Regions from separate parts of the Homo sapiens genome. Here regions 1 and 3 are each linked to region 2. Evidence: promoter capture Hi-C in 16 types of primary human blood cells and fetal thymus (Javierre and others, 2016). All regions are on one chromosome and are shown on one strand. The core of a region is centred on a gene start or on the middle of the fragment in contact, and the rest is flanking DNA. Distances in the headings are between cores, read along the strand shown.

What was found. The method cuts DNA at HindIII sites, captures the fragments that hold promoters and counts their contacts. A CHiCAGO score of 5 or more calls a contact.
Region 1: a fragment that was not itself captured here is called in contact with the fragment with the promoter of RPS3A in region 2 in 5 of 17 cell types (fetal thymus, naive CD4 T cells, naive CD8 T cells and 2 more); the score reaches 11.2 in fetal thymus.
Region 3: a fragment that was not itself captured here is called in contact with the fragment with the promoter of RPS3A in region 2 in 1 of 17 cell types (non-activated CD4 T cells); the score reaches 7.3 in non-activated CD4 T cells.

What each region holds. Positions count from the first base shown.
Region 1 is chr4:153,110,656-153,115,566 of GRCh38, forward strand. No RefSeq gene overlaps it. Among named protein-coding and RNA genes, the nearest start is that of TRIM2, 91 kb to the right of the region's middle. RefSeq lists an enhancer at 1,616-2,115. The HindIII fragment of the contact is 166 bases long and covers 1,401-1,566 here.
Region 2 is chr4:151,097,001-151,101,548 of GRCh38, forward strand. It overlaps RPS3A (ribosomal protein S3A), which reads left to right and starts at 2,628. Exons shown (of 6, transcript NM_001006.5): 1 at 2,628-2,714; 2 at 3,485-3,588; 3 at 3,975-4,162. The coding sequence starts at 2,653. RefSeq lists enhancers at 1,538-1,607, 1,885-3,084, 2,383-2,967, 2,388-2,947, 2,968-3,551. The HindIII fragment of the contact is 1,842 bases long and covers 1,275-3,116 here.
Region 3 is chr4:153,246,569-153,251,414 of GRCh38, forward strand. The region is part of intron 1 of TRIM2 (tripartite motif containing 2); the gene reads left to right. LOC105377496 (a long non-coding RNA gene) reads right to left here and starts at 1,971. Exons shown (of 3, transcript XR_939360.4): 1 at 1,852-1,971; 2 at 246-480. RefSeq lists an enhancer at 3,114-3,163. The HindIII fragment of the contact is 5,663 bases long and covers 1-4,846 here.

The DNA of each region.
Region 1 (4,911 bases), core at 234-2,733, 2.0 Mb after region 2:
CCGGACACTAAGGATGAACCCAAGGGAGCAAGACAAGTTAATACCGGCTGAGACCCAAGAACAGGGGAAGTGCCAGAAAGGGCATCTGAGGCCAGGGATCAAGAGGAGATGGGGGAGCTGGAGAGGAGTGGAGGGTGCTGGGAAGGAAGGGAGGGCCCAGTGGGTCACTGCGCCACCCACTGAGGAGCAGCCAGAGGAATGATGGCAGAGTGCCCTGGACACCCTTAAAGGCACCAGGTGAAGGCCGGAAGTCTTAGAAGAAAAAAAAAAAAAGCTGCACACGTGGTGGGTGTCACACCCAAAAGGCAACAGACCTTGTCCAGGAGGTCACTCGTCTAGGACATTGTAGAAATGATTCACTGACCCAGGTTGGGCCAGATGAGCACACAGTCATTCCAAGCCCAGATCCTTGGATTCGGTGTTGCAGGGACAGTTAGGGCTCACATTGGAGAGGCACCTGCCTTGAGCAGGGCAGAGCGCAGGAGTGGGAAGGGAGCTGGGAGATGAGAAGGCTGAGCTGGAGGGGAATGGGGTCTCACACCTACTGGGAGCCAGAGGCAACCATGAGAATCTCTCCAAATACTCCTATCAGAGAGAGGGGAAACAAGTATTTGAGAAGTGCGTTAGGACCAATTTTCTTCCTTTTTTTCTTCAGATCATGAAAGTGACAGACATTCATCATCCTTTTGGAAAATACAGTAAAGTAGGAGGAACATACAGATTTCCCTTACTCGTATCCACACAGGACTGTTGTTCTTTTCATGTATAGTCTATTTCCAGGTGTCTGTATGCCTGTGGATAAACGTTTGTTCATTAGTTAGCTGGGTTGGGATCATCTGGTAGGATTTTTGCACTTAACTACCTGCTATAGTCAGAATGTTTGCGTCCCCGCCACATTCATATGTTGAAACCTAACCCCCAAGGTGGTGGTATTAGGAGTGGGTGCTACTGGGCGGTGATTAGGTCATGAGGGCAGAGCTCTCAAGCATGGGTTTAGTGTCCCTCGAGAGGAGGCCCTGGAGAACCCCTGGCCCCTTCTACCAGGTGAGGACACAGGGAGAAGGTGTCACCTGTGAACCAGGAAAAAGGTCCTCACTAGACACTGAATCAGCCGACACCTTGATCTTGGCCCCCACCCCTTCCAAAACTGTGAAAAATAAATTTGTTTATAAGCCCCCATGTTTATGGCACGGTGTCATGGCAGCTGCCCAAACAAACCAAGACACTATCTGTTGTGAGCATTTTCCCGTGGTTTTCAACCGCATAATTTGTAATGGTCGCATAGCCTCCCATCATATGAATGTATTGTAATTTATTTAACAGATTGCTTATTGTTAGACATGCATTAATATAAATCCTGAGATATAATCTGGGCATCAATCTAGACAAACGAGCTCCAAAGCTTTAGTTTAGCTCTGCCCTTAGGGCAGTATTGGAAGCTGTAAAGACAGCTGTGAGCTGGAGCAGTCCCGAGGCACCCGCATGCAGGTGTGCCGGGAAAGCCTGTGGTGGCCCAAAAGGCGTCATCAGCTGTCAGAGGGAGCAGTCTTCAAAGGCCAACAATCAAGCTTAGTGCCAGGAAGCACAGCTCCTGCACATGGCCCGCAGCCCTCTCAGGACAGAAGAACTGGGTGCAGCAGGCCTCACGTGCCTACTGGCGGGGTCCCAGGAGAGGTCCTATAGCTTCCATCCAGCTGTCCCCACACCCTGCTCCGCTCTGCTCTCTCCATGCCCCCACCCCGTGGAGCATAGCCCCTTCTCACCACACCCAGCCCTGCTGTGGTCCGCATGCTCCCACCTCTTCGGCCCCTTCCTTGCTTGGCCCTGGTGTCTGTGTGGACTGAAGGCCAACTGTTCCCTGGGACTCTGGTCACCTTGGAGCCCCCACCCCTACTGCCATTTCCAAATTACATCTCTCTCTTTTTTCTCTAGAACCCACAGCTTATGTGAAGCTGTGCCATTCAGCTCCACCACATCCTGCCTTTCCTCATGATGGTCCTTACCAACCTCTGATTATCCCATTCATTAAAAACTCTAGTTCTGCCTCACTACCTTCTCCTCCACATTTCCTCTGATTTTTACATCCGTATGGAGGAGCTGACCAACACTAGAGCTTCTAAGTCTCAGTAGCAGTTCCCTAGGGCCGCTGAAACAAATTGCTTCAAATCGGTGGCTTAGCATAACAGAAATTGATTATCTCACAGATCTAGAGGCTGGAAATCCAAAATCAAGGCATGGACAGGGCCACAGTGCCTCTGGAGGCTTTGGGCGAACTCTTCCTGGCCTCTTCCAGCTTCTGGTGGTTCCTTGGCCTGTGACTGTGTAACTCCAATCTCTTCACTTGGTCTTCTCCTGTGTCTGTGTGTCTGTCTCCCCTTCTTTCTATTACAAGGACACTTACTGGATTTAGGGCCCACATGGCTAATCCAGGATGATCTCATCCATTGATCTTTAATTGAATTATATCTGCCAAGACTCTTTTTCCAAATAAAATTATAGTCACAGGGTCGCAAGTTCCAGGACACTGACATATCTTTTTGGAGCCCACCATTCAACTGAACTCAGTGCCTTATCCTGTTTCCCACCTGAGCCACTCTAGTCTCATGGTCACACCGTAGACCTTGTCATAACAAGCATCTCAGCCACCTTTAAATTATCGATCTCAGACATCCTCCCAGCTCTCTTGTGCTCTAGGACTCTAGCCCAAGGGCTCTCATTCACTGACGTCCCTGCCTGTGCGTTTTCTGTCATTCCTTCCCTCATTGTTGCCCTCCTTACTCAGCTCAGACTGCAAGTTGCCTCATTACAACCTCTCCCTGGCAGAATTCCTCAACCCCTTGCTTCTCTCTTCTCTAAGTCATACTTATCCTGCAAAACCTCAACCTTGGCTGATTCTAGTATTGACTTGGATGCACAGCTGACCACAACAGGAAAAGTCACACTGTCGGGCTGACTGGTTTCACTTTAAGTTCATGGCCACAAACCTCTAATGGGCACTGCTTAGCTACTCTGTCCATTTCCATTGTGAGTTGACTTTCCCCGGCAGCATCTCTCTCTTCACATCTCCCATGGTGAATGCATGACCTGCCCCACATGGAGCTGAGTAAATACACATATCAGAGGGGAGCGCAATTCTCTTCTCATCTCCAAATGCACAGGTAGACTCACAGCTACATCTGTCTTGTCACACCCCAAGCACCCTGCTCCCCGACCTGAACTCACTCCAGCACAGGCGCTCTTGAGAGAGGCAGCCTTGCCCAGGCCACTTGGTGCTCTGTGGCTCACACCCAAACGATGCCTGGCATGGGAAGCTCTTGGTGTTGGTTGAATGAAGGAGGACTTCCTTCCTCCAGTTATCTCCTCCTGCACCCTCGATCTTCTCTCCACTGAATCATTTCCACTCACACACAAAGACGTGCTGGAATCTCTCATTAGAAGAAGTCTTTCTGTGGCTCGACAGACTCTCAGTGTTCCCTCCCTTTCCCCATCCTGTTTCATAGCAAAACTTCTCCCACAAGCGGTCTGCACACTAACATCTTGGCTTCACCCATCCTTCCTTCTGCTTCTTCACCTACTCTTCAGTCTCCTCCAGTCTGGCTTCTGGCTTCTCCACTCCCCCGAAACTCCTTTTGTCAAGGGTGTCAGTGACCTCTGTGTCAAGGGCATCGATAAGCTCCATGCTGTCAAACCCAACTTTGTCTATTATAAAAACACCTAGAAGAAAGAAATTGACAGAGGAGAAGGCTGTAAGGTGAAACACAACTGCCCACCCCCTCTTCTTAGACCCCTCTCCTCTCTCATTGCCCATGATACAGCAAATAGATTTTTCTCTTATCCCACCAGACACTTCTAATCAACCTTCCTCACTAGGTCGCCCTCTCCCTGACCTCTAGATACAACCTCTTATTCTTCTCTGTCGATGTATTTTTCATTCTTAGCTTTAAACACCATCCATTTGCTGATGAATTCCAAATTTATTTTTTCATTTGAATCTAGACTCTTAAGCCCTCCGTATCCTTCCTTGGTGACTTCTTTAGGTATTTCAGGGGCATCTGAAATTTAACATTTCCTAAATGTCACCCTTGATCTCCCCAACCCCCTCCCCACCACCCAACTGGTTCCCTCCATCGGTCCTCAGAAAATGGTGCCACCATCTCACTTGCAGTCATGCCCAACAGCTAGCATAGTCCTTGTGGGAGTGTCTCTGGAGATAAAGTCATAGACCGGGAAATGCTGTGCCAAAAGGCGTGTGCCACTTCTTAAAAGTATAGAGAGCTCTGATGCCCATTCACCACAATAACAAACGAGGCTTTGAAGCTCCTGACGTTATCGTCTCTGAAACTGTGAGGATTTTTTTTTAACTGGGTAGTTTGCTTTGCCTGGAACTCTTCCCTCCTCTGAGGCGTTGGTGAGTCAGCTGGGGCTCGTAGATATAAGCAATGGACACCAAGCTCTGGGTGTTACAAGTAGAAAAAATGGACTGAAAGAGTACTGGGTAGCTCACAGGGCCACTGGGAAGACTGAAAAACTGCGGGACTAAAGGGAGCCCTGAGGTCAGCCCCAACCAAAACCATACCCTAGAACCTGTGCACACCAGACTCTGGACGTCATCACTGCCTGCTGCCATCGTTGTCACTGCCTGAAAAACAGCCTCCTCCTCTCATCCCTGACTCTGCTTCACTAGGGTCGGTGCCTGTGCCCTGGCTTCCCAGGAGGGGGAAAGGCAATGGGCCATTTTGACTGCACCCTTAAGACTTATCAGGTGTCACTCTGGGTGGCTGCAGAGGTGACGGCCGCCCATGGTGCTCATCCTGAGGGTCCGCAGCTCTCATTGCTGTTCAGCAAGACAACACTGGACCTGTTGGCTGTTACAGACTCTGGGGCTTTGGGAAGGGAACGTGAATGGAGCAG
Region 2 (4,548 bases), core at 1,378-3,877:
AGCCTCCCAAAATGCTGAGGCGTGAACCACCGTGCCTGGCCTGTTCCATTTTATTCTATCTGAAAATATTAAATGATGGTTGAGACCCAATAAACTAATTTCACACCCCCTAACTTTTATTCAACACAATTACATTAAAACTGCTGATTGCACCATTTAATGTAAAGGGTCAGAAAAATATTAATAGAAAATTTTTAAAGCTTTTACTACAAAACAAAGTTGAGGATTGAAATACAGACCTCTGACAAATCCCTTAGGTGCTGGTGCTGCTAAAATAAATTAGATGCAGCTGACTTCATTAAGGTCTCTCCCTGTGGCTTTCACTCTTGGGCAGAAAGAGGAATCAGACCAGGAAGAAGGTAAGTTTGGTTTTTATGCTGGAGTAGGCAGACTGGGGGCCCATAATATATACATATACATACATATATATATATATATATATATTTTTTTTTTTTAGATGGAGTTTCACTCTGTCCAGCCCAGGCTGGAGTGCAGTGGTGTGATTTCGGCTCACTGCAGCCTCCACTTCCCAGGTTCAAGCGATTCTCGTACCTCAGCCTCCCGAGTAGCTGAGACTACAGGTGTGCACTACCACGCCCAGCTAATTTTTGTATTTTTAGTAGAGACGGGGTTTCACCATGTTGTCCAGGCTGGTCTCGAACTCCTGGCCTCAAGTGATCCATCTGCCTTGGCCTCCCAAAGTGCTGGGGATCCTCCTACCTCAGCCTTCCGAGTAGTTGGGACTACAGGCATGAGCTATCAAGCCGGGCTAATTTTTTTTTATTTTTAGTTGAGATTAGGTCTTGTAATGTTGCCCAGGCTGGTATCAAACTCCTGAGCTCAAGAAAACCTCCTGCCTTGGCCTCTTAAAGTGCTGAGATTACAGGCATGAGCCACCACCTGGCCAAATTAACCATCTTAATCATCTTTTTAAAAAAGAGATGGGGTCTCACTATGTTGCCCAGGCTGGAGTCCTACTCCTAGCCTCAAGTGATCCTCCTGCCTCTGCCTTCCGAATACCTGGAACTAGCGGCCTGAGACACCTGGCAGGGCTACCTTAACCTTTTTTAAGTGTAGAGTTCAGTAGTGTTAAGTACATTCATACTATTATGAAACTAAGACTTTGAATTTATCCTCCAGGCAACTGAGATTTATGGAATTACTGAAAGATTTCAGGACCCTACTAGAGGTTTAGGAAGGTTGTCTTGGGGGGTGGGTGTAGTGGGAGGTAGGGGATGGAGGCTAGCAGGACTGGAAGGGATTGTAAGTTTAAAAGCTTGCAGGGGGCCTTGTAAGTAAGGGTTGGTTTTGGCTTGGTCACAGGGTTTTCTGCCAGAGGGGAAGTTAGAGAAGGGAACTCAACACACCACTGGCTGAGTACCAAGCCTGTATGGGCCAGATGCTTTCCGAGGGCTGCACACTTGAGCTAGCCAGCCACACCTTGCCAGGATGTGCTCTGTTAACCCCTACAGTTAAAAAAAATGGGGGAGGCGGGTTTGGATTAGTTGCAAAAATGGAAACATTTGGAGATCTCACTTTTTTTTTTTTGACGCAGTTTCACTCTTGTTGGCCAGGCAATGGCGCGATCTCGGCTCACTGCAACTTCCGCCTCCTGAGCTCAGATTCTCGTGCCTCAGCCTCCCGAGTAGCTGGGATTACAGGCACCCACCCGGCTAATTTTTTGTATGTTTAGTAGAGACGGGGTTTCACTATGTTGGCCAGGCTGGTCTCGAACTCCTGAGCTCAGGCGATCCGCCCGCCTCAGCCTCCCAAAGTGCTGGGATTACAGGCGTGAGCCACCGCGCCCGGCCAACGCCCTGCTAATTTTATCATTTTCTTGTAAAGACGGGGTCTGGCTGTGTGGCCCAGGCTAGTCTCCAATTCCTGGCTTCAGTTGATTCCCCTGCCTCAGCCTCTTAAAGTGCTGGGATTACAGGTGTGAGCCAACGAGTTCGGTCTCACTCTATTTTAAAAAAACCTTTTAATCAATATATAACAGACATATAGAAAAGGACACAAATAAGCGTAGAGCTTAGTGAATGTTCACAAAGCAACAACACCTGAGATGAACCAGCATCCACATCAACAAGCAGAACGTCGCTAGCATCTCTGGAGTGATGCTCATTTAGCCCTATGAAACCTCATGAAGCCGACCGTTTTATCACCCCCATATTACGCATGAGGAAACAAGCGTGGAGAGGTCGGTCTCAAGCAAAGCCCTGTTGAAACCGGCATTTGAATCAGATCCGCTGACTGACTCCAAAGCCAATGCTCTCAAAAAGCAGGTTTGGGGGTTAGACGGTGAGTTCAGCTTTGAACGATGTTGAGTGGGCGTCTCGTTTTACAGAAACTTACTTCCCGACGTCACAGCCACAGAAACCACAGGTAACCAGACGCCTGCACGTCAGGCCACCGACGCCTTGGTCTACACAGCGCAGCCTCCAGTGAGCCCGCGGCATGCCGCGCGGCCTCCCCACACACGATGGCGATGTCGCAACCACAGTAGAAAGAGTGGCGCTCTCTACTGTCCCGGAATTCTTGAGGCCGGAAGAATAACAGGGCAAAGGTCACGTAGACGGCGCGCCCCGCCCCCGTACGCCTAAGTTCTCGCGCGACTCCCACTTCCGCCCTTTTGGCTCTCTGACCAGCACCATGGCGGTTGGCAAGAACAAGCGCCTTACGAAAGGCGGCAAAAAGGGAGCCAAGAAGAAAGTGTAAGTCGCGACTGTCGTGGCGTCTTGCTTTTTGGGGGTCTGCTGGAATCGGCGGGCTGGTCCTAGATCGCGGCGTAGGCCGGATGGCGAGGATTCCAGTCGGATTGTGCGGGCCGTGGCGGGTTGGTGCACCCAGGAACGCGGCCTGGAGGGTCGGTGTTGAGTAGCGGCAGGTCGGCTGCCTTTCCCAGGCCTTCTGGTCCTTGCGCGCGTCGCGTTTGAGCCGGCTTGCCGGCGCGACTCGGCTGGAATGTTAGTTTTGTGGGCTCACGAGCTGCCTCAATTCTGCGAGTGTTTGATGGCACTGCGACAGCAGGAGTTGAGGAAAGCACCCTTCTATCCATTCAGGACCCGTCAATCTCGCCTTTGCTTGGTCCCGCTGGAATCTGCGAGCTCCTGCTAAGCTTTGGGGCCATGCAGTCTCTTAGTTACCAGTACATGCCATTACGTGCCAGCAAAGTTAATGAGATTGCATGTTACTCGTGCCTGTGTAGTGGAAGGACCGATGCATGTTATTCTAAGTGCCTGTGTAGTGGATGGACCGATGAGGGTGGGAAGTGGACATAACCTTTCAAAGTCTGATGCATGCAGTGAAACGTACAGTGGGAAGAGCTAGATTTATGTTTGTTCCCCTCACCTCACTGTGAGATATACTTTGGTATCAAATTGCCGGTTAGCTTTTTAAAATATTAATGGGAAATACCATTAACAGTGAAAAATACAGTAAGAATTGATCTGCAATGGAACTTAAGCATCTTCTTAAAATCCAGGGTTGATCCATTTTCTAAGAAAGATTGGTATGATGTGAAAGCACCTGCTATGTTCAATATAAGAAATATTGGAAAGACGCTCGTCACCAGGACCCAAGGAACCAGTAAGTAGCTTATTCTTGGTTTGTATTTTCCTTAAGTTGGCGCTTGTATATTGTAGCAGGCATCTTGGTCTGTTGTTGGTCCTGTGGTGGGAGACTTTAAGGAAATGTCAGCTCTTGGTTGCAGCCTTGGCACCTGTGGTGATCATTTTTAGTACAGCACTTGGAGAGAAGCAAGATGGTGCTTTTTGAATTAAGAAAATGTGCCATGGGTAGTTCTGAGCTTCAAATAAGTACTGTTGATAAGTCACTGGTGTCTGGATAGATTTGATAACAAAGGTTAAGGTCTTTATAATTTACCATTAACTTAATTTCTACCCTCAGTTTACAGGCTTGACTTTGCTTATATGGTTCCTAAATGTTAAGATACTTGTTTTTTTCTTTTGTAGAAATTGCATCTGATGGTCTCAAGGGTCGTGTGTTTGAAGTGAGTCTTGCTGATTTGCAGAATGATGAAGTTGCATTTAGAAAATTCAAGCTGATTACTGAAGATGTTCAGGGTAAAAACTGCCTGACTAACTTCCATGGCATGGATCTTACCCGTGACAAAATGTGTTCCATGGTCAAAAAATGGCAGGTGAGACCCAAAGTTCCTTAGAGTGGTTGTGCTATGGGTGTTTGACCAAGGATAGCATGGTTTGATGACTGGAAGGAGCAAGTTCATTTTATTTATTTATTGAGACCAGTGAAATGTCCACAAAGTTCATTTTAAATTTTTGTTTTCTTGCCGTTGTTGAGTGCTAACTCTGGGGTTGCCACACCATATTTTACTTACTATTTAAATCTAAGATTTAATAGTGGTGTATCATCAAAGTCAGATTTTCTTGCTGCATAGATTAGTGGTTTTTTGAGGAACGTTTAGGTGCAGGTGGGCGGTTTTGCCTGTCTTAAGGATGTTTTTTGACCTCAGAATTGAGTGAATGTTGATTAACTGTGGCAGTAGAGCATAATTGTGGCAGAGCC
Region 3 (4,846 bases), core at 1,483-3,982, 2.1 Mb after region 2:
TGACTATCTGTGGCTCCTAACACAGTGCCTAGCACATAGTAGAAGCTAAGTTAAAAATCTGTTGAATGAAGTGGATAGGGAGTAGGAAAGAGGGTGGGAGAAAGGGGGAGGAAGAATAGAGGATGAGAGACATTATCAAGGAAGAGTCAGGGTGCCTAGCATTGGCCCTAAGGTCATGGATGGCTCTGCTTGGCACTGGGCTCACCCTGACCAAGGGCTCACAACACCCTCGGGTCAGGCCTCACCTGACCGTGCACACATTCCATCTGCTGCTGCTTGACTTCTATTCTTCCGCCCTTGCTCTTCCCCTCTGCCTCTGGTGGCCTTGTGGCTTCCTGGCACTGGTCCAGATGCAATGCCAACCTTGAGAGGCGCATCAATGTTTGTTTAGAGTGCATTCATTTGGAGGAGGATGTGGAAGTGAGGCCTCCCGTTCTCATGTCCAGAGACGATGACTTACATCAAAGGGCAAAACTGACGCTGGAAGGGGACCAAAAGGAATCATTTCTCTTCTGATCTTTTTAAGAAGGCTGCTGGCTCTAAGGGAGAGATGCTGGCCACTGAGGACTCATTTCCACAGGCCGCTGACCAGCACAAAAGTCCAGGTTTCTTTCTCATGAGAACCAGTGGCAGGTAGGCATGAACAGACTCTCTTCCTTCCTGGGACTGGCCTGGGACTAGAGTTAGTGTGAGACCTCAGCAAGAGTAACAAAGTAGCACTGCAGCCTCTCAGCTGTGTCAAAAACAGCAGGGAGACACCAGTGCTAAGTGGGTGAGGATGCAGAGGGAGGCTGTGTCCAGCCTGGTGTGATAAAAGTGTTTAGGCACCAGGCGCGGTCACTCACGCCTGTAGTCCCAGCACTTCGGGAGGCCGAGGCAGGCAGATCATTTAAGGTCAGGAGTTTGAGATCAGCCTGGCCAACATGCCAAAACCCCGTCTCTACTAAAAATACAAAAAAATTAGCTGGACATGGTGGCACATGCCTGTAATCCCAGCTACTCAGGAGGCTGAGGCAGGAGAATTGCTTGCACCCAGGAGGCTGAGGTTGCTGTGAGCTGAGATAGCGCCACCACACTCCAGCCTGGGAAACAGAGTGAGACTCTGTCTCAAAAAAAAAAAAAAAAAAAAAAAACTGTATAGGCATATCTCTTCTGATTTTGCATGATTCTGCTCGCTATCATTTATTGATGTATTTTATTTGGCTTATGAAAAGGTGATGAAGTGTAGTGTTTTATTAAACTATTCATATGCCCAAAAAAACCCCACAAATGCTTACTGAATCCTTAAATGAGCCCAGCTCCAGGAGTAAAAAAAGTGAATTATCAGTCATTTCTAAAGGAACTCATAAATCTAGTAGTGGCCATAATAATGATAGTAATAATTTATGTTCTGACTGCTTATGATGCATCAGGCATTGGATCATGTGTTTTTTTTTTTTTTTTTTGAGATGGAGTCTCGCTCTGTCCCCCAGGCTGGAGTGCGGTGACACAGTCTCTGCTCACTGGCGCGTCCGCCTCTGGGATTCAAGCGATTCTTGTGCTTCAGCCTCCTGAATAGCTGGGATTACAGGCGCCTGCCACCATGCCCGGCTAATTTTTATACTTTTAATAGAGACAGGGTTTCACCATGTTGGCCAGGCTAGTCTTGAACTCCTGAGCTCAGGTGATCCACCTGTCTCAGCCTCCCAAAGTGCTGAGATTACAGGCGTGAGCCACCGCACCCGGCCTAGATCAGGTTCTTTACATAGACTAAACAAACCATTTCCTTCTCCTAACAACGCTATGTAGTCAGTACCCTTGTCATCCCCCGTACACTTGAGGTAATTGAGGAATACAGGTTAAATTACTTACCCAGGGTTATACAACTTGTAAGTGGCAGAGCCAGGATCCAAACCCATTCTTGGCTCTAGAGCCCATCCTCTTCTCCACTACCGCACCTGAGACTTACTGTGTGTTAGGCATGGGGCTGACAGTGACACACTGGATCATTTAATCATCACAATGGCATTAGGAGGTAGCATTTTACAAACGAGCTAACAGACAGGCAAGGAGCAACCTGCAGATAAAGCAAATCCAGATATGTCTCCAGAGCCCGTGCCTTAATCGCAGATGCATTCTGACTTTCATCATAGGATTCTAATCGTGGATGAAAGTGACCCTGAGTTGTAGTGCCAGGCAGGTTGCTTAGGAAAATACTCTTCTGGTAACATGTTGGAGGGGCAGCCTTCTGAGGATGGTGTCAGATTCCCCTGTCCTCTGATTAGCTCCCTCTGCCAAGGTGCCCAGGCTCCTACTTCAGTGTCACCTCCAGGTTTCAAAGCATGGAAACCCAAGCATGTTACTCGGAGAAAGTCCCACCCCCAGCATGGGCGCATCGGCTTAGAACCCTCCAGGGTTAGCAGGCAAAGAGCTGTGGACCCCGGACACGGGAAAAGGCCACAGTCGGGAGAACTCCTGTTGCTGGAGGGCCAGGCGGGGGCGATCCCCAGGGCTCCCAGCTTTTAATGCTGTCACCGCGGGCCTTACTCCCTCCTCTTCCCCACATCGCCACCACTTGAATCAGTTCTTTTACAAAGTGGTTCTATTTCCTGGTGAGACAAAAAGGTTAGAAAAGGAAACCTAGAGGGGGTGGGGGAAAGACAGAGGTTCGGAATACCGGCGCGCAATCGCCATCTGGGTGGAGGGGACCCGCCTTCTTTTCTTCCGCCTGAGCGCAGCTCGGCTCCCGCCTCGGGGCGGGGCCTGTTGCTATGGAGCCCGGGCCCCGGCAGAGCCTGCGGGGTGAAAGCCCCTAGGGCTCCGCCTGGCATGCGTGGCCGGGGCTGTCTGAGATTTCCCCAGGTCGGTGGTTATGACCGCAGGATGGAATCGTAGAGGTCGGGTGATTTGGTCAGTAGAGAGGAACATTTGCGAGGTTCTCTCTGAATTACATGTTGGTCTAAAAGTAATCCACTATCTGGGACCGAGAGGAAAGCATGTGTGGAAGAGGCAGGCATTATTAGCAGCGCGTCCGCCTCGGCCACCTCCCTGCTCCCGCCTCGGCCACCTCCCTGCTCCCGCCCCGGCCCTGGGGGCCTCTGTTCAGCCTCCACCAGCTCAGTCGCCCACGGAGACTCCCGAACTCTTAAATCCCAGCCCTGTAGTCAAAACCACTGCATTAATTAAACAAGGTAAACTGGTGAGGCAAGCAGGAACTTGACACCGCCTTGAATTTAATTGTTAAAATGAGAAGTGTGGTAATGGAGCTCTGCTTAAGAGAAAAACAATACTTGATACCGATGTGCACATCGATGTGGACACGGATGCAATCAGGAACCCATAGTTAGCACCGGGAGATTACATTCCGGGTATACTCAAGATAGATAGAGTCAACTTTGAATTCTCGAGGCCAAGCAATGGGCGAAACAAAAGAGCTTTGTGTTTGCGTGCTTTTGCTTTTTGTTACAGTCAGAGCAGGACAAAGAATAATGAAGGAGTAGACATGTTATTACTTGGGCATTTAATAATCAGTGCATGGCAGAGCCTTGTGTTTTGCTTGTCTTTTTTTTTTTCTTTTCTTTTCTTTTTTAAAGACAGGGCCTCACTCTGTCACCCAGACTGGAGTACAGAGGCCCCATCTCAGCTTACTACAACCTCAGCTTCTTGGGTTCAAGTGATTCTCCTGCCTCAGCCTCCCAAGTAGCTGGGACTACAGGCACGCGCCACCATGCCTGGCTAATTTATGTATTTTTAGTAGTGACGGGGTTTTGCCATGTTGACCAGGCTGGTCTCGAGCGCCTGATCTCAAGGGATCTGCCCACCTTGGCCTCCAAAAGTGCTGGGATTACAGGCGTGAGCCACCACACCAGGCCTACTTCAGTCTTTTCTACAAAACTACAGAACTCCCTATCAAGAGTAATGCTAGAGAAGGAATATTAATGGGATGGTTTGTTAGTACCTAGAAAAAAAAGCATCCTGAGTTCCATAAGAATAAATGATACCAGACCAACCAAAATTCCTCCTTGGATAGGGTTGCTGGGCATGAATTTATGTCCAATATGAGTCAATATGAGAAAAGTGCCAGGACCTCAGAGGTAATTAATAGAAGGATAGAGCCTGGAGCAAGCAAAGTGATGGTCTTGCTCTGCTCTGTGCTGGGCAGATCCCACCTGGATATGTCTTCAGTTTGGGGCAGCTCCCTGTGGGAAACATACTGGGCAGGGAGTCAGGGGTGCTTGACCTGGGTCACCTTTACTGCAAATACAGCCCGGCTGCAAAGGGCTATCCTGATCCTTGAGACTCTGAGCTGAAGGCAGATAACTCAGTCCCCAGGAGTGATTTTGAGAGGTTCTGTTTGTGTCATTTATTTTTTTGTCACCAGTGCCTTGTATACCACCTGGCACACAATCACTTGTGCAATGTATAACATTAAAGGGTCATCTGAAGGCCAGGCCACTTCTGGTGTGAATTCTTGGGTTGGAACTGGGTCAGCTGGTTCCCAATTAATCTACTCCTATCCACATAACCCCAATAGGTTAAGGCCAACTTGCACCTTTTCTCTTTTAAGGATGCTTAAGAGAAAGTCCTTTCTGCTTCATTCACCATTACTTCCTGACAGTCCTGTTTGTCCTTAAAACCTCCCCCACAGCCACTAATGAATGATCCCAACCCCTAAACATAGGAGGCCTCACCAGGGCTACTGCCAGTAGAGAGGAAGGGGCTCGGCCTCTTGGGGTCCAAACCAAACCACTCAATCAAACTGACTACAGAGAGTCTGGACTGTCCAGAAGGAGCTTGGCTTTGAGGGCCACACCTGGAGTGCTGAACTGTGAAATCCATCATAACAATACTTCCTCTCCAGTTGCTC